7 separate regions of the Homo sapiens genome follow, and regions 2, 3, 4, 5, 6 and 7 are each linked to region 1. The links are contacts of gene promoters, found by promoter capture Hi-C in blood cells and fetal thymus (Javierre and others, 2016). All regions are on one chromosome and are shown on one strand. Each heading gives the region's core, a stretch centred on a gene start or on the middle of the fragment in contact. The rest is flanking DNA. Distances are from core to core; before and after follow the strand shown.

Region 1 (3,254 bases), core at 105-2,604:
AACAACTTGCTGAAATGCTGAAACTCTCTCCATTTGTAAGATAACAAAATTGGCTGAAGTCATTGGAGCCAATCTGGCAGACTGGAGTCTGCACAGAAAAAGCGTGCTGATGTCACAGCCAAATTTCCACTGCATGTTTCATACTGACCCTCCCCGAAACTGCACATGTGACCCATGAGGTAGCATGAAGAGATAACTTCCCATGCCCGAGGACTTTTTCCAGCCCTCCCTTTTCCTTCCACCAGTCACCTACTAATACCAGAATCTAATCCCTAACCTTTCCCAATAAAATGACTGCCTTAAAGCCAGCACAGGGAGACAGATTCAAGCTAAACTCTTGTCTCTTTGATGGTCTAGTTGCAGTAAAAAGCTTTTCTTTTCTCAAAAACCTGGTGTCATCGTATTGCCTTCTAGTACACTAGGAAGAAGCCCTTTTGCTCTGGAGTCATCTTCAATTCTTAATTTTCTGCACAGTCAGTAAATAAGTCCCATGAATCTACCTGTCTAATGAGGTCTTTCTCATGGGCACCCAGACCCATGACTGCCTTCCTTCAGATGTGGAGATTTTCATAATTTCTTTAAAACAGTCTCATTCGACTTTTACTTCACCACCCCATCTCCCAATCCATCCTAATATTTAAATACCTTAGGCATAATCATGTCACAATTTTAATCAAAAGTCACTAGAGATTCATTCGTGATGACTGCCACGATGAACCTCCTAAACCTGAGTTCAGGCACCCTGTGTCTAAGCCTACCCACCTTTCGCACTCCAGCCTCCCATCGCCACTCCTAACACACCCCCATTCCAACCACAAAGACCCTGGTCAGGCCTTTAAAAAAGGCAAGGAAGGAATTCTGAGAGGCAAATCTTTGTGCCCTAAGGCAGGATCTGGGGCTAACCCAATTGTGTGGGGTGGTAAGAAGAGGTTTCAGAATCTCACATTAGAAAAATAAAGAAAAGAAGAATGTCAAAATGGCAGTGATCAATTCAGGGTTGCTCTCCTAGAAGGGTGGGGAAGGAGCAGGTTCAGAGGAATTAAACTTTGAGGGTGGAAGAGGAGCTGGAGACCATGTGTCAACAGTGGGCCAGCTTTTCTGCTCCCAGCAACAATGAGCCTCCCATCCTCAGAGCCCAGGACTCTTCACTGCAGCCTCATTTTACCAGCCTGAATGTTGAGGGGTCTAGGGAGGGGTGGGACAGCCAAGGGGGGTGATTCATCATGGCTCTATTCTGGTGTTCAGGGCTTGTTGTGCTGGGAGCTATGGAGTCACACAACAATTGCCCCTCGATGATGCTGCAATGACCTCATAAGTGGAGGTCATTTCCCCTGCCCCCACCCCCAGCTTCCTCAGATCTGGGCAGAGGAACCAAAGGGAAAAGCCACCTTCCCAGGCACAGCCATAACATCCACCTCACTCAACTGCTTGTCAAGTTCACCACCAACACAGAGGGGTAAGTTGCATTTGGACAGGTGGAAGTGGCCACTCTTTGGCCTCTTCTACCCTGGGAGTGACCTGAAGTACCCCACGCACTGAGCAGGGTTGGGAAAGTCATGTTTGAATGAAAGTTTCCTGTTATTTTCAGTGGTAAGAACTGGTGTGTGCTTCACCTTGGAATAGAGTCTCAACAATTTTAGAGTTCAACTTAATAATATGCCTCCCCAGAGAGCTATACTGATTTTAAAACAAAATTTAAAATGTTATTTTTATATTGTTAAAAGAAATCAAAGAAATATAACCAATTAGATCCAACTTGAAGTATTGTGAGGGACTGAAAATCCCTGTCCATATCTAGGAGTTAAACTGTCCGTGCAGAAATGCCTAGCTCAGGGCAAAACTCAACAGGAGAGAAAAGGAATTCCCTTCTGAAAATCACATTTTGTGGCTCTATCATTCAGATTTTCAGAGAAATTGGAATTTCGTGGTTCATCTCCTGATTTCTTCCCTTACCCTATTATTTATCAGAACCTGGATGGAGACAAAGGAGTGGGCAGTTCTAGAGTAGCCCATGGGAACCCACTCATGGCAGGGATTAAATTACTTTCCCTCCCATGGCCTCTAGTAAAGAAAGCAATTCTCAAGGTTCAGGGAACTTAGGTGGGACACAGGATTGAAAGCAGTGTCCTAGGCCCCCAAGTCTGCTAGTGTACCTCCCATCTATCTTCAGAGGAACAGGAAGTGGCCTTAGAGGAGCGAAACTTCTATTGTGCCATGAATGCCTTGAGCAATCTGGTCAAACTTAGGGACTCCTTGGAATCATGTTTCTAAATGAATTAAATACAACATATGGAGTTACAGAGACACCAACTCTACTGAAATACAGTTTCAGTGGGGTGGGGGAGGTGGGGGGTCCAAAACCATAGGTTAAGAACTCCTACTAGAGTCTATAGCATGGAAGCAAGAATAAGTGAAAAGGAAGCAGAGTTAAGGGTGGAGAGATTAAGAAATGCTATCTCAAACTCATACAAGGATGAGGGCGGCCCTAAATGAGAAGATGATCTAGAGCCTGAATGCATCTCAGGGAAGACTTTCTTAAGTACAAGGATAAGCTGTAAGAAGCCTGTAGGTATCCTCTCCCACCTACAATGCATCTCATATTTCTTTGCAGGGCTCAGATAATCAAGAAACAATGTCGAGTGATGATAAAAGTAAATCAAATGACCCCAAGACTGAGCCCAAGAACTGCGATCCCAAGTGTGAACAAAAGTGTGAGTCCAAATGCCAGCCCAGCTGTTTAAAGAAGCTGCTGCAACGCTGTTTCGAAAAGTGCCCATGGGAAAAGTGTCCAGCACCACCCAAGTGCCTGCCCTGCCCCTCGCAGTCTCCTTCATCCTGCCCTCCCCAGCCCTGCACCAAGCCCTGTCCTCCTAAATGCCCTTCATCCTGCCCACATGCTTGCCCACCTCCCTGCCCTCCCCCAGAGTGAGGCACTGTGGGCACTACCCAACCCCACCACCACTGCCACCTCCACCATGTACAACGCTGTGGGGCTGGAGACTGAAACCATGAACTGACAAGTAAACGTGTTCCTCTGCTGTGCAAGACTTCTCCTGGTGTTTCTGGTGGGTTTTGATTTGTTTTGTTTGTTGTTTTACAGCACTAAACCACCAACAAGCAATCCCTGAGAAGTGAGGCTAGAACCCTGCACTCTCAACAACCTTTGAGAACTGACTTTCCCTCTGACCCCACCTGCTGCTTAGAGGCAGGTGCCCACTTCTGAAGGGTGTACCCAGGTAATGCCAGGCTGTGTT
Region 2 (2,964 bases), core at 337-2,836, 410 kb before region 1:
AGTGTTTGGAGATACTACGTTATCACAGGAGTCTGGGCAGCTGTAATAATTGATGCTCTGAGACAGGTGGTACACACACATATACATCTCTCTCAATATGTATGCTCTGTATATGTGTTTATAAATATACATGTATCTCCACCACGTTTTGGTTAGGGTCACCATGTCCATTTTGACCTAGATATCATTCCCAAGTTCTGGGCATATCCAGAGTCTGTCAGGGGCTGGGAAGAAGAGGACTTGTCCCTCATATGGTTTAATCTGGCTTTTCTTGGTCTTCCTCTGAAGAAATAGTTTAATTTGTGGATAACCTTGCAGTCATGGCTGTCTTAGTGACTAGTGTGTCCTAGAATGAACAGCAGCCCATTTCATTAATATCCTAAAAATGTATAAATTCAGAACACTCCATTCATATAAATCCTGTGGACATGTAGAAAGCTAGTGATTCTAGTGGAGAGAGAGGAGAGGGGCTTCCAAAGTAGCAGCATAAACACATTCACATTAAATATTAAGGACTCTTGTTCTTAAAAGGCACCCGTCCCCTTATGGTCCAGGACGGGGTTCTGCCAGCCATTTGACCCCACATGGAAGCGTAGACTTATAATGTCTCACAACCATGTCTCTTTTCTTCCTGTTTCTCATCTGTGACCATCATCCGGTGCTCCCAGTGTGAACCCAGAAAAGTCCAAATTCTCACACCAATACAAAGAGCAGAGCTGCTGCTTCTTGTTTCTCTAATGAGCTGCTTCCTTGTTCACATCTCAGTGCTGACACATCAAGGACCCCACCAGAAGAAAAGGGCTATTTAAAAGCAAACAGATCACCAAACAGCCAGACTCACTCTCATTAGAAAAAAGCTGTGCTTCGTTTGTTAAACAAAGATCAGTATCTTCATTCTGTATTCAGCAAGTTATGAATGTTTCACTTATTCAGAGCCTACAATGTTTCAGTCTCTCTGTCAGGCACATTTTCTCTTTTTTGTGTTACTTTATTGACTTTCACAACCAACTAATTCTTCTGTAACTAATTCTTTTTCATCTTCCAGCTTTATGGTTTAAAAAATGGTACAGGCTAAATAGTTTCAACAGTCCCATCTCGCAGGGCCTGGTCCTGGGCCGGGTTATACTTCCAGGGTTTTACTTGTGTAGATGTCTACACTGCACCCACAGCCACACAGTTTGGTGGTGCACAGGGACAGAAATAAACATGCATGGAAACCTCAGGGATTAGTACTTCAACTTCAACCCAGGCTGCACGGAGCATCAGGTACTTCGGAAGAGACAGAAATGAGATAGGTCCTAAGTTCTAAGACTGAGAACTGAGAGGCTCTCAGGGCAAGCAGCCTTCAAGTGAATGAGGTAGGTGATGGTAGGAGTCATCCTGGAACCCCGTTTCAAGTAGGCACTTTCCTACCTGGGAGTGGCTGCCTTGAGCCTGGGGAGAGAGGCAGGTGAGGAGCTGTCAGTCACCAACCATCACAAGACCCACGTGGGTGTCAGAAGGAAGGTCCTCTCATGCCCAGGCCCTGTCTCACAGCTGGGGCAGAGCCCAGGCCAGGATAAAAGGGCTCAGGGCCAGACCACCCCATCCACTCACCTCCTGAGGTGCTAAAGAACCCTGTGCTGCCTGTGACTCCGGTAAGAACAGAGCAGGGATGCTCAGAACAGAGCAGGAGGGAAGGAGGGGCAGGGCCTCCGGGGCTAGGGCCATGTTGTCAGAGGTGGAGAGTTTAGAAAAGACTGAAGGGGCGGGGGCCAAAAGGGGTCTGGCACTAACTGGGAGCAGGAAGGAAAAGAGGAAAAGAGCTGGCGGGCTGTGCCATGTGCCTTTGAACTCTAGAGGAAACAAACTGCTCTGGGATGAGGTGGGTGTTCCAGAGTGGGAACTTTGAAGCACAGAGACCTGCTCCACTCTGGCAGCCCACAGGAGGGAAGCCCACCTCTGAAGATACAACCCTGTCTCTGCCTGCAAGGGAAGAACTGGAGCTGTGGACATGGGACTAAAGACTCTTTGGGGTTTATGAACCCCACATTTTCATGGGTCTGAGATTTGTTCACAAACTTCCCAGCTTGGTTAGGACACACCAAGCCTGAGACCCACCGTGTCATCCCATCAGCCTGAGCAGGTGGTGAGTGAGGAAGTCTGAGCTCCAACCTGAGATCAGGGGGTCAGGGTTCAAGTACTAGTCTGCAGAAACTGCTAAGTTTATCTGTCTCTATTGAAGTGAGTTTACTGACCTAGTAGTCTCCAAGATCCTGCACAATGCTGACCTTCCAAAGTAAAATCGTCTTGCAAATTATGACCAGAGAGAATGACTGCTTCTTCTCCTTTAAAAATAATTTTCTCTTAAATGACTCATAAATTAGACAATTTCAGTCTTAAGATATATTTGTAATAATTTCTTCCTCCACTGACAACACATCAGAATCTTAGATGCATTTTGCAATATTGTTTAGTCTTAGTTTACAGTTGTCTGACATCCAAAGATATCTTGAAAAAGATGATGTGAGATTTTGAGGAAATTATTGGAAATAAAACTACTGAAGATGATGCTTTTAAACTTGAGAGGTGCTAAGAGTGTCACAGGGGCAGAGGTGGCCTCTGCCTGGGTCTGACTTGTTATTTGACTCTCCCTCAGCTCCTGAACACCCACCACCGAGATGTCCTGCCAGCAGAGCCAGCAGCAGTGCCAGCCCCCTCCCAAGTGCACTCCCAAGTGCACTCCCAAGTGCCCCGCCCCTAAATGTCCCCCTAAGTGCCCTCCAGTCTCTTCCTGCTGCAGTGTCAGCTCCGGAGGCTGCTGTGGCTCCAGCTCTGGGGGCGGCTGTGGCTCCAACTCTGGGGGCTGCTGCAGCTCTGGGGGTGGTGGCTGCTGCCTGAGCCACCACAGGCGCCACAGGTCCCACCGTCGCAGACCCCAGAGCTCTGACTGCTGCAGCCAGCCCTCGGGGGGCTCCAGCTGCT
Region 3 (3,373 bases), core at 640-3,139, 380 kb before region 1:
TCTCTGCACATACCCCTTCCCCTATTCTCCTTGAGTAGCTATTGTTCTCCTCACCCTGTCCTCTGCAGGTGGTGGCCTTGGAACTTCAGGGGCCAGTGGGACACACTGGCTTGAATTGGGGTCAATGAGGGCAGGAGTGGGAAGGGACTTCCAACGCTGTTTGTCCTATGTCAATTGGCCTGAAGCAGCATTGCTTGTGACCAAGTCTGAAATGTCTTTTGTAAACACAGCTTCTTTGCCTCTGGTCCCCTTCAAGGCCCTGACTGGTCTCTCCATGCTCCTCTCCCTCTGTGAGCGCCACCTTCTCCTCCTCACCTAGCTCCACCCAACATCCTTCCTCCCTCACACATGTATGCACATACACACACATCACATGCAAATACACACACTTCCACACAAGTACAGGTGCACACGCACGCATGCACACATGGATGCATGCATATGGAAGAAAAAAGAAAAGAAAAATAGATTAATAAAATAGAAAGCAAAAAACAGAAATATATTTTGAAAATACAGTTTTCCCACTAACTACTTCTGAAATCAGTTTAGTTCGAGGCATATCTTTGTGTAAAAATTGCACTTGTATTAACCTTCCATTAAATGTCTCTTTCTTCCTCTTCCATCTCCATTAAATTCTCTGCACTTTTTTCCAGAACACATTCCCTATACCACATGTCTGAAATTGTCACTCTACTTCCTCAAAACAGAGGCTTTCTATAGAAAAATGCATGTGCTTCTTAAGTATTACATTTGAGACTCAGCAGGAATTGTTTCCAACTTCTTTTCTAAGGTTTACCATTCATACTTCCCATGACACCCCATGTTCTTGCCGCACTGAGCAACTCATAACTTACACTTGTATATATTCATCCTTTTTTTTCTGAGAAGCTGTAAGTAGAATTTACTATTCATAGCTCTGTATCTAGAATACTATAAGTCTTCAATAAAGAGTAGCTTCTCTTGATATTTTATAAGTGTTGCCACTACTACTACTGCTACCCTTAGTATCACTACTAACTACTGTAATCATTACTTACTATTACTATTAGCAGCATTACTTGCTATTTCCTCTATCTGAAGTTCCTCCAAATCTCTCCCCACCATCTGGACATTGTGTAATTCTGTCCCTCTTTTAAGGTTCACCTCAAATGTCATCCTTCTATGAAATCTTATCCGATTGTGTGTTTTCTTAAGCTGGTGGATGTTAAAAAATCTGTCTACAACCCTCACATTGAGCAAGCTTAGCTTGGAGGATGTAATAAAATTATAGCTTTTTAAAAATTTAAAAATTTTAAAAGTAAAATTGTCCTTAAAATTTTACTCAGTGGGATGGTTTTCCTTCCTAAATGACAAGTTGAAAGGCCAACTGACTTTACAGCTCTTTCAAAGTAATGCAAAATGATTTGTTACTTGAAATCACAAACGTGGGCCCAGTGCAGTGGCTCCTGCCTATAATCTCAGCACTTCGGGAGGCCCGAGAGAGAGGATCACTTGAACCTAGGAGTTTGAGACCAGGTGCGGCAACAAAGCAAGACCCCATTTCTAAAACAAAAAAATTACAAACTTGGTTTCAGTTCAGTAATGAAATATCCAGTCAGAAAAACAATATCAACGCCAAATTTGACTGGTTGGTTGATTGATTTTTTTTTTTTTTTTTTGAGACAGAGTCTCACTTTGTTGTGCAGGCTGGAGTGCAGTGGTGCAATCATGGCTCGCTGCAGCCTCAACCTCCTAGGCTCAAGTGATCCTCTCACCTCAGCCTACTGAGTAACTGGGACTACAGATGCACACCACCATGCCAGGCTGATTTTTGTATTTTTTTTTTTTTTTTAGAGACAGGATTTTGCCTGTTGTCCAGGGTGGTCTCGAACTCCTGGCCTCAAGAGGTCTGCCTGCCTCGGTCTGCCAAAGTGCTGGGATTACAGGCACAAGCCACTCTCCCCGGCCCCAAATTTGACTGAATGGCATATTTGCCCATATCCCTGCTCCAGTGGGCTGGCCCACCATACCAGAGAAAGGGAGCCTGGTCCTTCTACTCATTCCCCACCTAATGTCTGTCCTTCTCCAGCTTTCTAAATGTATTTTCTGAATGGAGAACAAAGAAAAGGCTCAGTCTGACATGTAGGCGCAATATCCTTCTGATACTGGAGCAACCAGGAAGCAGAATCCAATTTCTGACTCCTCCACTCTTGGGCATTTTAGTGTCTCCCCTCTATCTGTGATGTGAGTGATGCCTCTCCAGGGTGAATTTCTTGAAGTTCAGCCTTGGTTCCAGAATCTTCTCTTAGACAGTGGATAAATGGCTAAGAACAGTTGGTCTTGACAATGTGATCAACATCTGGTCATAGAAAGCACTCATGCATCATTTGACCCATGCTTGCAGAGGAACTAGAAACTCATCTTTGCTTAGATGACAAAACTGGTTTCATTTCCTCCATGTTTCCTGAGGGAAGAGTCGGGTCCTCATTCTGTATATCCCCCATATCAGGGACTCACCTGCAGGCTCCTCCCAGGGAAAGGACAAAGAGGGCAGGATCCTAAGCTTCTAGTCCTAGGAAATTCTCTTTCTTCCTTTTGTTTGCCGGAAATCTAGAGGATTTTTCTTATCCACCACAAGTCCCATTCTGATAAAATACTTATCTGTAACTTTCACATAATTAAACCCCAAACCTTGAGACTGGTGCAAATTTAAAAAAAAAAAAAAGAATGTAATAGTATATATATATATATATATATATACACATATATACACACACACATATATGTATGTATATATACACATATACGTATCTATGTATACACATATGTATGTATACATATATATACTATTAAATCTCTCTCTATATATATGTATATATACACAAAGAATTAAAATATGATGATGCAGGTGATGGTTATCAATGGGGAAAAGATGGCTATTCAATACCTGGAGTTAGGGAATTTTGATAACTGAAAAAAAAACGTAAACCCTCATTTAGTATTAGATGCCAAGACAAAATCCATGGGATTAAATATTTTGAGGAAATCGAATTATAAAGAAAGAAGTACTTGTAGCTAAATGTTTATCTTCTCCCAGGATTGAGAAAAACATTCTCAATATAAAAACAATTAAAGAAATTATAAAGAAAAATAAGCACAAATACATGCATATTAAATTAAATATTTTGCTAGAGAAGAGGAAAACAAAATTAAGTAAAATAATTTTTTGAAATATTTTAATATATATGAAATATAATAGAGTAATACCTTACTATATAAGTATGTGTTAAATTTTACATATGTATAAATTTCTTAAATAAAATATTTTACACAGATACAAACTTAAAAGGATTTCCTGGTAAACACTGCATGCATGTATTTTCCACTCATATTG
Region 4 (2,997 bases), core at 297-2,796, 360 kb before region 1:
TTTGAGGCCAGGTTTGAAATTTGTTCTAAACTCGGGAAGACTCTACTTAGCCCTCACTTTCCTTGGTTTTCTCTGGTAAACAAGCTGCCCTATGGTTTAGCATATTGCTCTTATGACTCAACAGCCTCTTCTTAAATGCTTGCCAACAAAATCTCTCCCATTTACCAAAGTGCCTTTAAGCTTGAACGTCCCCACACTCTTTTCCAAATATAGTCAGTTCCTTTGGTGAGAACTTTGGAGTTCTCTGGGTTTTCTGGACATCCTCTTCCCTGGACAAATTCTCTTAGCCACTGCTTTTGAGCTGAGGGCAAATGTCTCCTGGAGCTCACTGCTGATTAATGAGCAGAACACTTTAATGGGGTGGCAACCACTATTCTTCTTGGATTGTTTCTCCCACCATCGATCCTCCACCCTACAAGTGAGCTGGGACAAAGGACTTTGGTGTCCCAATATTCTTGCCCTGCTGCACCTGAGGTAGAGTGACTGCCTGCCCCATGAGTGGGAGATGGGGAGTAAGAAAGCCCCCAATCTCTTAGAGTCCCCCTCCTGGAATTTAGCCTCTATACCACAGAACTAAGGGAAGAGGTGTAAGAAATGTTGGCAGCCTCCCCCTCACAGGAAGACACTGGAGGCCATGATTTGGAGCTAAAGGGGGATGGAACCTTATCTCATTGATTGCATCTTCCAAGAGTGGAGCTAGCATCATGCCCAACTGGAAGAGATTAGGGAGGGTGCAAGTTGTGATTCAAGTGCCACAGACTATTGTTATTGTTACTATGATTTAGTAGATTTTCTTGAATAAAAGTTTTTTAATTTGCTCTATACCCTTAGGACAATTTGCAAAGGATGATTGCAAAACTTTTTTTTCAAGTCTTAATTATTTTGCTAGGAGAAGGGTCCAAGGAGTTCTTCATGCCACTGTTCTGAAAGTCCTCCCTAAAGGGATTTTTATTTAATTTGTCTTAGGTTTTCCATAAGGCTTTTTAGAAAATACTCTGAATTGAGATTTTATGTATTTATAGATTTCTTTTATAATTTAGTCTTTAAAAGTTTTTTTAACATAGAGTTGTGAACAACCTAAGCTGTGGACACAGTTTTTTTGTATTTATTTATTTATTTTTAATTCTTTTTTTTTTTATACTTTAAGTTCTAGGGTACATGTGCACAATGTGCAGGTTTGTTACATATGTATATATGTGCCATGTCGGTGTGCTGCACCCATTAACTCATCATTTACATTAGGTATATCTCCTAATGCTTTCCCTCCCCACTTCCCCCACCCCACAACAGGCCCGGTGTGTGATGTTCCCCTTCCTGCTGTGGACACAGTTTTAATTATTTTCTTCTAAATCTTAGAAGCTTTCTTTTCTCTTTCTTTGGATGATGAGAAAGGGAAAAAAGAGACTTACTCGTCTGATGAAGAAAACACTACACTAAGCTCTTCTTTTGCCAATGACAATTTATTCTATTGAAATGGAAACTAAACCACTTATATCCAATGGTCTACATCAGGGGCATCCAATCTTTTGGCTTCCTTGGTCCACATTGGAAGAAGAAAAATTGTCTTGGGCCACACATAAAATACTATTAATACTTGGGCCACACAATAATACTAACAATAGATGATGGTCTAAAAAAAATCACAAAAAATTTCATGTTTTAAGAAGGTTTACAAATTTGTGATGGGTCACATTCAAAGCCGTCCTGGGTCACATGGGGCCCACAGGAGTTGAACAAGCTTGGCCTAGATTAACAAGCCAGTTCTGATGATATTATAGTCTTGAGTACAAGTCAGGATAATTGGTGGTTTGGATACCATCCTACCTGGAGGAAAGAGGTAGGACCAGATCTCTTGGCCTTTCTTCCTAAGAAAACATGAGCAGGGCTGGGTTCTAAAATAAGAAGTACCTGTAGAAAACATGATATAGATTTCTTTTATTTATTTATTTATTTATTTATTTTTTTATTATACTTTAAGTTTTAGGGTACATGTGCACATTGTGCAGGTTAGTTACGTATGTATACATGTGCCATGCTGGTGCGCTGCACCCACTAACTCGTCATCTAGCATTAGGTATATCTCCCAATGCTATCCCTCCCCCCTCCCCCCCCACCACAGTCCCCAGAGTGTGATATTCCCCTTCCTGTGTCCATGTGATCTCATTGTTCAATTCTCACCTATGAGTGAGAATATGCGGTGTTTGGTTTTTTTGTTCTTGCGATAGTTTACTGAGAATGATGATTTCCAATTTCATCCATGTCCCTACAAAGGACATGAACACTCCCCTCAAACTAAACTCTTTGGCACAGTCTAAGTAAAAATATAATAGTGTTCAGGAAATATAGTTGAGGTGCCCACAGTGTGATGTGGACAATCCCAAACTCACTGTAAGTGTCTGATTTCATCATGGCCTGAGTCTGTATTTCATCAGAATTAATTGACTCAGGACATAATATTTGAAAAGCATTCTGTAAACTAAAGTTCTTTGCAAACATCTGTGATGGGGATTTTTAAAAACTTAATAATTAACAAACCTAATAACTAGTAACTGTAATGAACCATTGTGTACACTGAAATGGGGCTTGAGATATACAGATAATAGCCCCATGTTCAAGGCATTAACAATATCACATACAAGTACAATTGTTTATGATAATAAATTATATGTATAACAAGTAATAAATGCTCTGAAAGATTTTCTCAGCCAGGCATTGTCTAGAAATTCATTACAGAGAACACGGGATTTGAACTGGCCCTCGGAAGTAGTCTCAGAAGAGGAACCAAGAAAGACAAGAAGTAAGACACAAAGAAAGACAAAAAGAAAAAGAAAAAGAAAGAAAAGAAAAAAGAAAGGAAGAAAGAAAGAAAGGAAAGGAAAGAAAGAAAGAAAGAAAAAAGAAGGAAGGAAGAAAGAAAAAAAGAGAGGAAGAAGGAAGGCAGGCAGGCTGAGGAAATAAGAGGAAGACAAAGAGATAGAGTGGAAAAGGGAGGAAGAA
Region 5 (3,245 bases), core at 329-2,828, 260 kb before region 1:
GCCATCTTCAGGACTAGCTTGCCTATTTCCATTTCTCTCACTCAAAAGTCTTTTTTAATGTATTTTTAGGGGAAAAGTAAAAATTATATATATGTACAGTGTACAATGTGATGTTTTGATATATGAATATATTGTGGGATGACTAAATCAAGCTATTTAATACATGTATTACCTCACATATGTATCATTTTTGTGTGGCGAAAACACTTAAAATCTACTCATTTAGCAATTTTCATGTCACATATTGTTATTAACTATAGTCAACATGACTTCCAGTGGATTCCTTGAACTTATTCCTCCTGTCTCTTTCAACCAAGAGCTTATGACACTGGGTGGCAAGTGCCACTACTTGCCTCCAACTTTTTTCAACTTCCTATTCCATATTTCTAAGAGTGTGTCTTGCCCTAGTATTCAAAGCCCATCTCCATGGAGCACCCAACGACTGTTGACCATGCATTTTGTGCCAAACACTTGCACATACTTTAAATAAGTTGTCCATTTTAATCCTTACAACTGACATGCAGAATGGTGCTGTTACCCTCTTTAGCAGGTGAGAAAATTGAAGTGCAAAAACATCTGGTTCCTAAGGTCACCCAACTGGTAAAAGGCAGAGCCTCAGTCTGAGCACCACTTGGGAATTTTTTAAAGATGAGCTCCATCCTTTGCCAGGTATGGGAAGCATCCAAGTCTGTATCCCGTGCCACCCTTCTTTGTCCTGGAACTTCTAACAGAAGTTAGGAGGAAGAGCCAGGACTGGGGCCCCAGGAGCTCAGAACCCAGAATCCAGTCACTGTGACTCCTCCATGAGCTCACTCTAATGCAATGCTTCTTAGCTTCCCCCACCCCCTCCACCTTATGATAATCATTTCCCTGGGAACCCTGGAGTCATATGGATATGTGATATATGTAGGGAGATTTAGAGATAAGCACTATCTACTGTAACCAACCAGTTTCCCCGAATGGGGCCTAACGATTTTCCCAATAGCAGAACAGACAGAGAGTGGCAGCTGCCATTTCTTGTATAAATAACAATAGGTAAAAAATGAAAGCCTCTTGTCTTGTCTTCCCACCAGTTCAAGCTGAATGTGACTCTGAGCCTAGGTCAAGTCAAAGTCACAACTTTGCTGAGGGTGGTGGGTTTCCAAGAGAGCCATCTGCCCCCTCAGCTGTTTTCTTATGTTACCTGCATAAGCTGCCTGTCCCATCCCCTCCTCTCTGCCAACCAGAACATCCCAGAACACTGCCCTCACACCCCCACACCCAGCATGGTCGGAATGCTTGCTTGGGACCATCCTAGATGCCAGGGATCTAAGTCAAAAGTCATGAGTGGGTTTGGAAATCCAAGGAAGCCAGTCCTCGTAAAATGATGGGGAGATGAGGCAAGGGGAGGGTGAAGGCACTGTCATCTCCAAATCCCGCCATACCAGCCCTGGGGGTGAGTAAAACTTAAAATTTGAGGAAGGACAGGTGGATCCTATTGTGACTAGGGACTAATTAGGACACCCCAATCCTGGGCCACCTCATGGCCTCAGGCAGGGATGAGAGGTATATAAAAGGTAGATAGGCTCAGAGCATCCCAAACCCCTCCACACCTATCTGCTCCAGTCGCTGGTGAACCTTGGTAAGTCTGGAAAGGTAGTACCTCTTATAGCAGCCTTGCCTTGCCTGCATCCCTAACCAACTATGGACTGGGCTGATTCTCTGGGTGGTGGTCAGAAAGGATGGGTCTTTTGGGGTACCTCTTTTTTCCATATCATTTGTGACAAACCTATCTTGGGTCCAGCAAGTTATCCAGCAGAGTAGTGTGGGAGGCTGGGCTGAGCAGGGAGAAGGAGGGGGGTATCTACAAGAGGGTCAGTATCTCAGCGATGCTGCTGGCATGGTGTGGGTGTTGCATCTTGTCAGGTGCTAAGAGGGAATTAGTAGGAGAGGAGAGACCAGTTCTGGGCAGAGCAACTGGAAGGACTGTCCTTTCAAAGAAAAGAGAAGGCAGGAAGGAAAGAGAACAGACTCCCTTGGGACAGCAGAGTTGTGGATGTCCATGGAGCAAAGGGCTGCAGGGACAAGACGATGTGGCACCATGGAAGGCTCTGCTCTGGGAATCAGGAGACCTCTTTTCCCACCATCTATGCCGAGTGGCTTTGAAGCCATTCCTTCCCTCTGAGGTTTGCTTTCCTCAACTGTAATTGAGAGAGGCAAGCTAGATAGTCCATTTCATCTATCTCTAGAGTTTTCTCTTTATAAACTCCTTTAGAGAGTGGTTAAGATGCGCCTTTTAAATTGTTTATGAATTTACTTAACAAATTACAACTCTTATATAGTGTTCATTTTGTGCTACTACTCTGCATGTGTGTGTCGGTACATACATACCTACGTATGCATGCATATTTTAAGTATGTATTTTATATACTCATTTAATTTTTGCACCAACTCTAAGAGAGGTAAGTATGGAAAACCTTAGTTGCTCAAAATCATATAGTTAATAAATGATTTAGCCAGAACTCAGATCCCAGGCAATTTATTCCAGATGCCACAGGTTTTGCTATAATAGGATACAACAGTCTGCTCTTTCATTCTTCCTCTTTTTTTTCCTCTCTCTCCCTTTTCTTTTTTTATGTTTTTCTTTCTTTTCAACCCCTCCTAACATTTCTGTTTTCCCTCCCTTCCTCCTTTCCTATCTTTCCTTCCTTCCATGTTTCTTTGTCTTGAAAAGAGTTGAAATAACTTGTAAACACTTAAAGTTTACACATGCGCGCGCGCACACACACACACACACTCCTCTTAAATCTGTGAAGGGATCAGGGCAAGGTAAAAGCAGAGCAGGACAGGAATGTGGCAGGGGGTTCACCTGGGCTTAGGGTCTCTCTATGGCTCAAGTGTTCCTCATTTCTGTGTCTTTCTGTTTCCAGTTGCAAGTCCAGCCCAGAATGTCTCAGCAGAAGCAGAAGCAGTGTGCTCCCCCGCAGCAGTGCTGCCCCCCACCCCAGCAGCGCTGCCCCCCACCCCAGCAGTGCTGCCCCCCGCCTCAACAGTGCTGCCCCCCACCCCAGCAGTGCTGCCCGCCGCCTCAACAATGCTGCCCCCCTCCCCAGCAGTGCTGTCCCCCACCCCAGCAGTGCTGCCCTCCACCTCAGCAGTACTGCCCCCCACCCCAACAGACCAAGCAGCCTTGCCAGCCCCCACCCAAGTGCCAGGAGCCCTGTGCCCCCAAGTGCCCACCCCCTCAGCAGTGCCAGACGTCCAAG
Region 6 (3,352 bases), core at 742-3,241, 500 kb before region 1:
CTGCATCCCACAAGCTTTGATGGTCTGTGTTTTCATTTTTATTCAAATAAAACTATTTTCTAGTTTTTCTTATGACTTCCTCTTTGATTTATAGGTCTTTTAGGTAAAAATAATTTTAATACTATATTTTATTTAGGCTAGTATATCCATAATTTTGCATTTCAGCACGTAATCAATCTAAAATATTAGTGAGATATTTTACATTTAAAACAATTTTATGTCTTCAAACTCAGTGTCATGCTATGGCACATCTCAATTCAGACAAGTTATATTTCAAGGGCTTTATCATCTCATGTGGTTAGTGGCTACTGTATTGTGCAGAGTAGGGCTACACCAATAGCTTTCATCTCTGTTTGTGCAACACATTCAACTTGTGACCTTTTAAAAAACACCAATGCTGGGGCCCTATTCCCAGAAATTCTGAATTAATTTGTCTACAGTTGAGTCCTGGCATCTTTTGTTTTAGGACTGCCTACTAGGACCACTGGTGTCAACCCTGAAATTTTCCTTTAATCACACCGTGTTTCTCTTGTGTTGAGGTTCAGCATCACTATCTAACTTCTCAGGTGTTTCTGTTTCTCTCTCCAGTTCTACTCTGAGGTCCTGAGGACAGGAACAAGGTTAATTCATTGTATTTCTCACATAACTGAGGCAGTGCTGGTCACAGATTAAGAGCTCAATGTGGTAGGTTGTTGCTTGTTACCACATCCCTCTATAGCTGATGATTTGCTTGCCAGAAACACCATTAACATGGGGCACTGGATTGGGAGAGAGATGGAAAATGGGAGGACATTCCTACAATAATACTTGCCAGAAAATCTGCCTTCCACAACAATTCCGTTCCTGCTGTCTAATACTCATTTTCTGAGTTAGTAATAGCAGAAATTACTATAAAAGTAGGTAATTTCTGTCTTTACAGAGAGGAAATATAGGCTGGGGGTTTAGTCATCTTCCTTGTCATCATTATCAATGTCTTCATGTTCATTAATATCAGCTAACTTTTGTCATTGTTAGACATCTATTTTGCATAGTAGGTATTTCCAGAAGTACCTCGTGATTATATGTGTATATACGTATAACATATATGATATACATAAGGAGAAATAAATCAATCTTAATGGGTTGCATGAAGAGTTGTATCCTATATAAACCTTTTGAGAATTAGAGCAACACACACCAAATTTCTTTTTCTTGTTGGTTTAGAGTGTTTTGATGGGTAAAAGGGAAGAGTTTTTTCTATGATGGGAAAAATATTTTCCTCATAATGATCTTCTTATATGTTTGTTGAAGAAAAAAAATCAGTCCTTTTTTTAAAAAATGGTTGCAATAAATGCAACTTGTGTGTGTGTGTGTGTGTGTAGTTGACAGACAGATACTTCCACAAAAGGTTCCTGAATTGGTAAAAGTCTCAAGTCTCTGATCTGTGCTCATGAGCTACTTAAATGCAGCAGAATCACATACACAACACACAACAGAAAAACTCAGAAACTCCTACTCAAAAGGCCCCTTGATGGTGACACATTCCTTGGTAACCCAAATAGAAGTAGTCAAATATGATAGCCTTTGAATTCCAGGCTGAAGGGTTCATAGAAGAGAAATTCTAAAGAGAAGAGTGGCTGACCGAGGGGCATCTCTCTCCACAGTTAGGACTGGGGACTTGGCCTGGTCTAAAAGCATGGGAGATACTCTCTAAAAGAGTAAGGAGGCCTATGGCACCAAACCAGCCTCTCAGGATTGACTGACCTGGGAAAGGCCCAGAGCCTCTGGCTGAAATTTGGCTGGAATATGTTAGGGGCTAAATGTGGGGCAGTCTTGGAGCCTTTGGTGCCAAAGTTCTTCCTGAGGGACTGAGCAAAGCGTGTTCAGAGGGAGGCTTGAAAGGTAAGTACCCATAGCCTTAAACCCCTCTGTTTGCTGTACATTGAGACCTTAGCCTGGGAAAAGGGTCTGATTTACAGAAAGTCTCATATAGTCACCCCCTCTCCCACTAGTGCCGAAGAGGCTATCTGGGAAGCTCATCATCCAGCTCAGGAAGAGATGAAACCAGGAGGCAGGAGAATGTCAGGCATGACCCCACACTTGTGCAACAGCCACGTCCTGCTCCTGCCATTAGCATGGCTCATCCGAGGCCCAGCCCCAGGATCCATACAAAGTGTGTTCCTGCTGCTGGCTTCTCATCTGCTCTGCTTCCTAAGGGACGTATCTGTTGCTGCGTCTGAACCCACGGTGAGTGTTTCTATAGGAATCCAGAGGGGGACGCTAGCGGGATGAAGATGGAGATGGAGAGTAATTCTGGAAGTCGAACAGTGAAGCGTGGAGTAGGAGGAGGATGACATGGTGGACAAGGCCAGAAGGCCAGAAGTAGTAGTTGGCTCTGGACAAAGCAGGAACCAACCTGGGAAGGATTATCCCTGTGATCAGACAGGAAGATGATGAATGACCTGGGATTGCTACATCCCTACCAATGGTTGGCCTGCTGGTCCTAAGCCCATTGCTCTGAAGGAAGCTTTTCTCTAACCGTGCAGATCTCAAATTTATTATTATTTATTAAACAGATTTTCTACGAATTTCTGAATTCCATTTCTAGATAAATTCATGTGGGTAGAATTGCAATGTATTTAACATGTCTTTGAGATGGCATTCAAATTTTGCTGGCTTTATTAGCTCAGAAGTCACTTATTAACCACCTAACAAATACTAAGAATTTTTGAAAGCTCTAGGGGTACAAAAGTAATGAAGATATACTCTTTGTCTGAAAGAGGTTTCTATACATGTCCATATTTTAGATATTCCTCTTCATCACCTTGGGGGAGGATTTTAAAATAAAAAAAAATGTAATGGCTCTTGATATTAAGTTTCTGTATATGTTTCTATTTTGTCATTCAGGTTTATCGAAATCCCACCAAGATGTCCTGCCAGCAGAACCAACAGCAGTGCCAGCCCCCTCCCAAGTGTCCTATCCCCAAGTATCCCCCAAAATGTCCCTCAAAGTGTGCATCCTCATGCCCACCTCCAATCTCTTCCTGCTGTGGCTCCAGCTCTGGGGGCTGTGGTTGCTGCAGCTCTGAGGGAGGTGGCTGCTGCCTGAGCCACCACAGACACCATAGGTCCCACTGCCACAGACCCAAGAGCTCCAATTGCTATGGCAGTGGCAGTGGCCAGCAGTCTGGGGGTTCTGGCTGCTGCTCTGGAGGGGGCTGTTGCTGACCTGGACCAGGAGCAGCACCAAAGGAATTAGTGGGCGAAGGACCCATTGCAGCCTGGTGTTTTACCTCCTTCACTCTCTTGCCTTTCCTTTCTGTAGCCCCATCAATTGAATAAACATGCAGGTTTGCGTCTCATCAACTTCAGG
Region 7 (3,430 bases), core at 7-2,506, 340 kb before region 1:
ACAAAAAAGGAGTTTCTGTGGACATAAATAATTCTTCATTATTGAACCAGAAGGTCATTGATGGGTATTAGACCAACACAATAAAATGGTGTTTTCCAACCTTTTTAAATATACTTGTAATACTTTTTGTCAGAAATATCACAGGGAAAGAGCATCATTTTGCCTATCTCTACAGATCTGGGCTTCAGTGGCTCAGAAGAAGAGCCAGAAGAGGCACAACCAGAAGAGAACCACATATATACACTATACTCTGCTTTGGCACAACAAGGCAAGATGTTAAGTCATTTCCTCTGATAAGTGGGAGAAACTGAATAGACTGTATGGAGTTCCTCCCTCATAATGTGACTTACTTTCAACTATCTCACACCCTGGCATAGTCAACATTCCAGCCATCATCTCCACCCTCTTCATCAAGTTCACTGCCACTTCCAATCCCAGATAAAATATATTCAGGGACAAGATCAGACCTGTGCTGAGTGTAAGCTCCGTGGAGTTCTGAGGCTCATAAATAAAAATACCTACTTGAAGATATACCTAAGATAATCTGGTCCAGCCTCTCCTGAAACCCAGAAAGAGCAGCAGAGCAGGGACCAGAGCACTGACTCACAGTGCAAAGCTCCTGCTGCTGACTCCATCCCTGGAGCAGCTTCCCACACCTGCCCCACAGGCCTGCCACTGACCTGGCCTCCCAGGCTACTCTCTCTCAAGGAGTGAAAGGAGGGGAGACCTTTGCCTCAACCACAGATCACCCATTAACTCATTAAACAAATACTTTTGAGCACTTACATTATGTCAGATTCTGTGTAGGTGCTGGAGATAAAGAGTGAACCCATGAACACTGAGATTTCATTCTATCCAGGACGACAGATATTGAAAAACAAATACAAGCAAGTGTTACCAGAAATACAAGGTGCCATGGGAGCATTTCATAGGAGAAACAATACAATTGAGATTGAAGGTGCAAGGATCCAGAGAAAAGGGCTAGGGATAGGTGTTGGAAAAGACAAGGGGCCACTCCTCCCCTGTAACACAGGAAGTCATGAAGGATGGCTGCAGATGTAAGTGAGCTTGAAGACTTAGGAGAAGGAAGCGGAAGTGCTTTATGTTTGACAGGAACTCTTTGCTCCATATGGTAGAGGCAGTACCATCTATCTAGAGGCAGTAGTGAAGGTTTGGAAGATTCAAGGGAGGAGAAAAGCCATGAGGTATGTGCATGGTGAATACAGGGAGGTATACGGGGATCACCAAGCCATGTTTTGGACCAGCCAAGGTGGATGATGGTGATTTTATGATGGTGTCATCCTGCCAAAATGTCTATTTTTGTTTTCATTTTTATAGCAACTAGGCACAACAGGGAGAATTCAGCCAGGGATAAGGCTTTGCCAGTCAAATGCAGTGACAAGCCAAATGGGTAACAAAAGAAAGTTTATTATATTGGCAAAAGAGTAGTTGAAACAATGAACTAAGAAAAGTGAACTGGGTGGGGAGTGGCATGAAAAAAGGAGGGAGCTTGTGGGCAGGGGAGAGACTAGATCCTAGTGGATGTACCCAAGCAAATCCAAAAGAAGGGGCTGCTGTGAAATGGGGGCCTGAATTGATGATCTCAGAGAGTTAGAAGATATGGTTTCTAGTTCAGACTCTGCACAACTTTGAGGTCTCCATTGCCCCCTCTGGCCATATGTTCCTGACCTACGTAGAGTGGAAGTATCCTAAATCCGCTTGCAGCTGGGACTTTCTATGATGCCACATGGTTGATCAATATTTTAGGCACTTTGGTATCTGAATCAAATACACTGAGCCCTCAGTATTGGCCCATGTGTGCTTAGATTATTGGTTCCCATCTTATTGATAATGCCTGCAGAAACCCCGATCAGTGCCTGTGTTGATCTAACATCTGTGACTTTAGATGCCCAGTCATGTTTTGGATTCCTCCAGAAACCCTAATTTCAATTCCCAAGCTATGTCATTATAAATACCCTTCTAAGTCATGATCTTCTAATCTTTATGGAAATCCTGTGAGAGTTTATGAAGGGGAAGGATGCTCTGGGGGATCTGTTAGTGACACAGGGTGACAAAGTGACAGAATGACAGAGCCACTGGAATGTGGGAAGTTGACATCACAACCACCTGGTTGGGAAACAGTTTTCACATCATCTGTGGCTCATTCTCTCTAGTTGAATGCAGTGTGTGTATAAAAGGCTCCCGCTCACAGTGTATCTATCCGTAGTCCCATCGTTTGCCCAGGGTTAAGAGGACAAGGTGAGTGTTTTTACTGATCTGATGGCAGTTTGGGGATGACTAGGGCTGCTACACCTCCTTTTGGAAAAGCCATTCAAAGTTGGAGAGAATGGAAATTGATAATTCCAGGAAGACCAGGCTCATGGCAATCATCGAGGTGGTTCAGAAGCAGCAAACCCAGAAGGAGTGAAGTTAACCAGAGACTGGGGCAGTGCAAGTGTTTGTAGGGCAAGAGACAGCCACGCAGGGCTGAAGAGTAGGGCTAAAGGTACAGCTCATGATGCAAGAAAGAAAAAAAGGGAGATGATGATGAGAGGTGACGTAACCATAGACTCAGGTTAAAAATGTGGTTTTTAGAATGCATAAATTAGAAGATAGGATAATAAGTAAGTGAAGATTTGGGGGACTACATAGTGCCCTAAGCAACTGCCTTTGAAGTCAGGAGTCTTGAGAGAATCAGGCCAGGCACAAGAGAAGATGTCACCAGACTCTAACTTACTCACTGCTGAATCTCTCCTATGTCAGGAAAGCAGGGCTGCTCTGCTATTATGATGTGGCTTCTGGAGCCACATATTCAACTGTAGAATTTCGGGCTCTGTAGAAAAATGTTGATACAAACAAGGTTTACATTAATTAGACTTTTGAAATGTTTGCATTGTTTTTTAGAGTAACTGGACTTTCTCCAAGATGTCCTATCAGAAACACCAGCAGAAATGGCAGCTCCCTGCCAAGTGCCTCCCCAAATATCCATCCAAGTGGACCCCTCAGGCTCCTGCTTCATGTCCAGCTCCATGCCCCCCTCCAGCTCCCTCCTGCTGTGTTTCCAGTTGCTGTATTTCTGGCTTTGGAGGCCACTGCTCTCTAGTTTCACTCCGGTTTCCACGATTCTACCTGCGTCAGCCCCAGCATTCTGACTGCTGTGAGCACGAGTCTTCTAGATGTTCCACTTGCTATAGCTCTGGAGACTGCAGCTGACCTGTGACCTTTGAGGAACCAAAGAACCACAGCCAAGGACCCGCCCTGAGTTGATGTCTTCCCTCACTCTTACCCTCCTCCTTCCTTCTCCTCCTGAACTCAGCTGCCTAGCTCCATAGGTGATGGGCTCCCCCTTTTGCTGAGAACCTCAGGCCTCTTGGCCTTGGCTGTGTTCCTAGATCAAGGAGACCTGCATGCAAAAGAAAAACCTGCTTTT

The links. Contacts are between HindIII fragments. The CHiCAGO score rates a contact against its expected background, and 5 or more counts as called.
Region 2: the fragment with the promoter of LCE1D here is called in contact with the fragment with the promoter of LELP1 in region 1 in 5 of 17 cell types (M2 macrophages, megakaryocytes, M1 macrophages and 2 more); the score reaches 7.0 in M2 macrophages.
Region 3: a fragment that was not itself captured here is called in contact with the fragment with the promoter of LELP1 in region 1 in 1 of 17 cell types (M1 macrophages); the score reaches 7.6 in M1 macrophages.
Region 4: a fragment that was not itself captured here is called in contact with the fragment with the promoter of LELP1 in region 1 in 1 of 17 cell types (endothelial precursors); the score reaches 6.2 in endothelial precursors.
Region 5: a contact is called between the fragment with the promoter of SPRR5 here and the fragment with the promoter of LELP1 in region 1, in 2 of 17 cell types (endothelial precursors and M1 macrophages). The highest score is 5.8, in endothelial precursors.
Region 6: the fragment with the promoter of LCE4A here is called in contact with the fragment with the promoter of LELP1 in region 1 in 5 of 17 cell types (M0 macrophages, endothelial precursors, M2 macrophages and 2 more); the score reaches 8.7 in M0 macrophages.
Region 7: a contact is called between a fragment that was not itself captured here and the fragment with the promoter of LELP1 in region 1, in 5 of 17 cell types (M2 macrophages, endothelial precursors, erythroblasts and 2 more). The highest score is 8.9, in M2 macrophages.

Annotation. Positions count from the first base shown.
Region 1 is chr1:153,202,076-153,205,329 of GRCh38, forward strand. LELP1 (late cornified envelope like proline rich 1) reads left to right here and starts at 1,355. Exons shown (of 2, transcript NM_001010857.3): 1 at 1,355-1,456; 2 at 2,612-3,045. The coding sequence starts at 2,633. The coding sequence ends at 2,929. It also overlaps a transcript of SPRR2G not described here. The HindIII fragment of the contact is 8,615 bases long and covers 369-3,254 here.
Region 2 is chr1:152,795,135-152,798,098 of GRCh38, forward strand. It overlaps LCE1D (late cornified envelope 1D), which reads left to right and starts at 1,587. Exons shown (of 2, transcript NM_178352.3): 1 at 1,587-1,637; 2 at 2,639-2,964. The coding sequence starts at 2,661. The HindIII fragment of the contact is 8,213 bases long and covers 1-2,964 here.
Region 3 is chr1:152,818,625-152,821,997 of GRCh38, forward strand. No RefSeq gene overlaps it. Among named protein-coding and RNA genes, the nearest start is that of LCE1A, 7.2 kb to the right of the region's middle. The HindIII fragment of the contact is 1,302 bases long and covers 1,239-2,540 here.
Region 4 is chr1:152,836,954-152,839,950 of GRCh38, forward strand. No RefSeq gene overlaps it. Among named protein-coding and RNA genes, the nearest start is that of LCE6A, 4.4 kb to the right of the region's middle. The HindIII fragment of the contact is 379 bases long and covers 1,358-1,736 here.
Region 5 is chr1:152,945,628-152,948,872 of GRCh38, forward strand. It overlaps SPRR5 (small proline rich protein 5), which reads left to right and starts at 1,579. Exons shown (of 2, transcript NM_001395435.1): 1 at 1,579-1,621; 2 at 2,910-3,245. The coding sequence starts at 2,928. The region is part of intron 1 of LINC01527 (long intergenic non-protein coding RNA 1527); the gene reads right to left. The HindIII fragment of the contact is 11,414 bases long and covers 1-3,245 here.
Region 6 is chr1:152,706,169-152,709,520 of GRCh38, forward strand. LCE4A (late cornified envelope 4A) reads left to right here and starts at 1,992. Exons shown (of 2, transcript NM_001387222.1): 1 at 1,992-2,226; 2 at 2,887-3,266. The coding sequence starts at 2,908. The coding sequence ends at 3,207. The HindIII fragment of the contact is 2,492 bases long and covers 13-2,504 here.
Region 7 is chr1:152,857,773-152,861,202 of GRCh38, forward strand. It overlaps LCE7A (late cornified envelope 7A), which reads left to right and starts at 2,224. Exons shown (of 2, transcript NM_001395990.1): 1 at 2,224-2,259; 2 at 2,905-3,430. The coding sequence starts at 2,926. The coding sequence ends at 3,213. The HindIII fragment of the contact is 4,401 bases long and covers 1-3,430 here.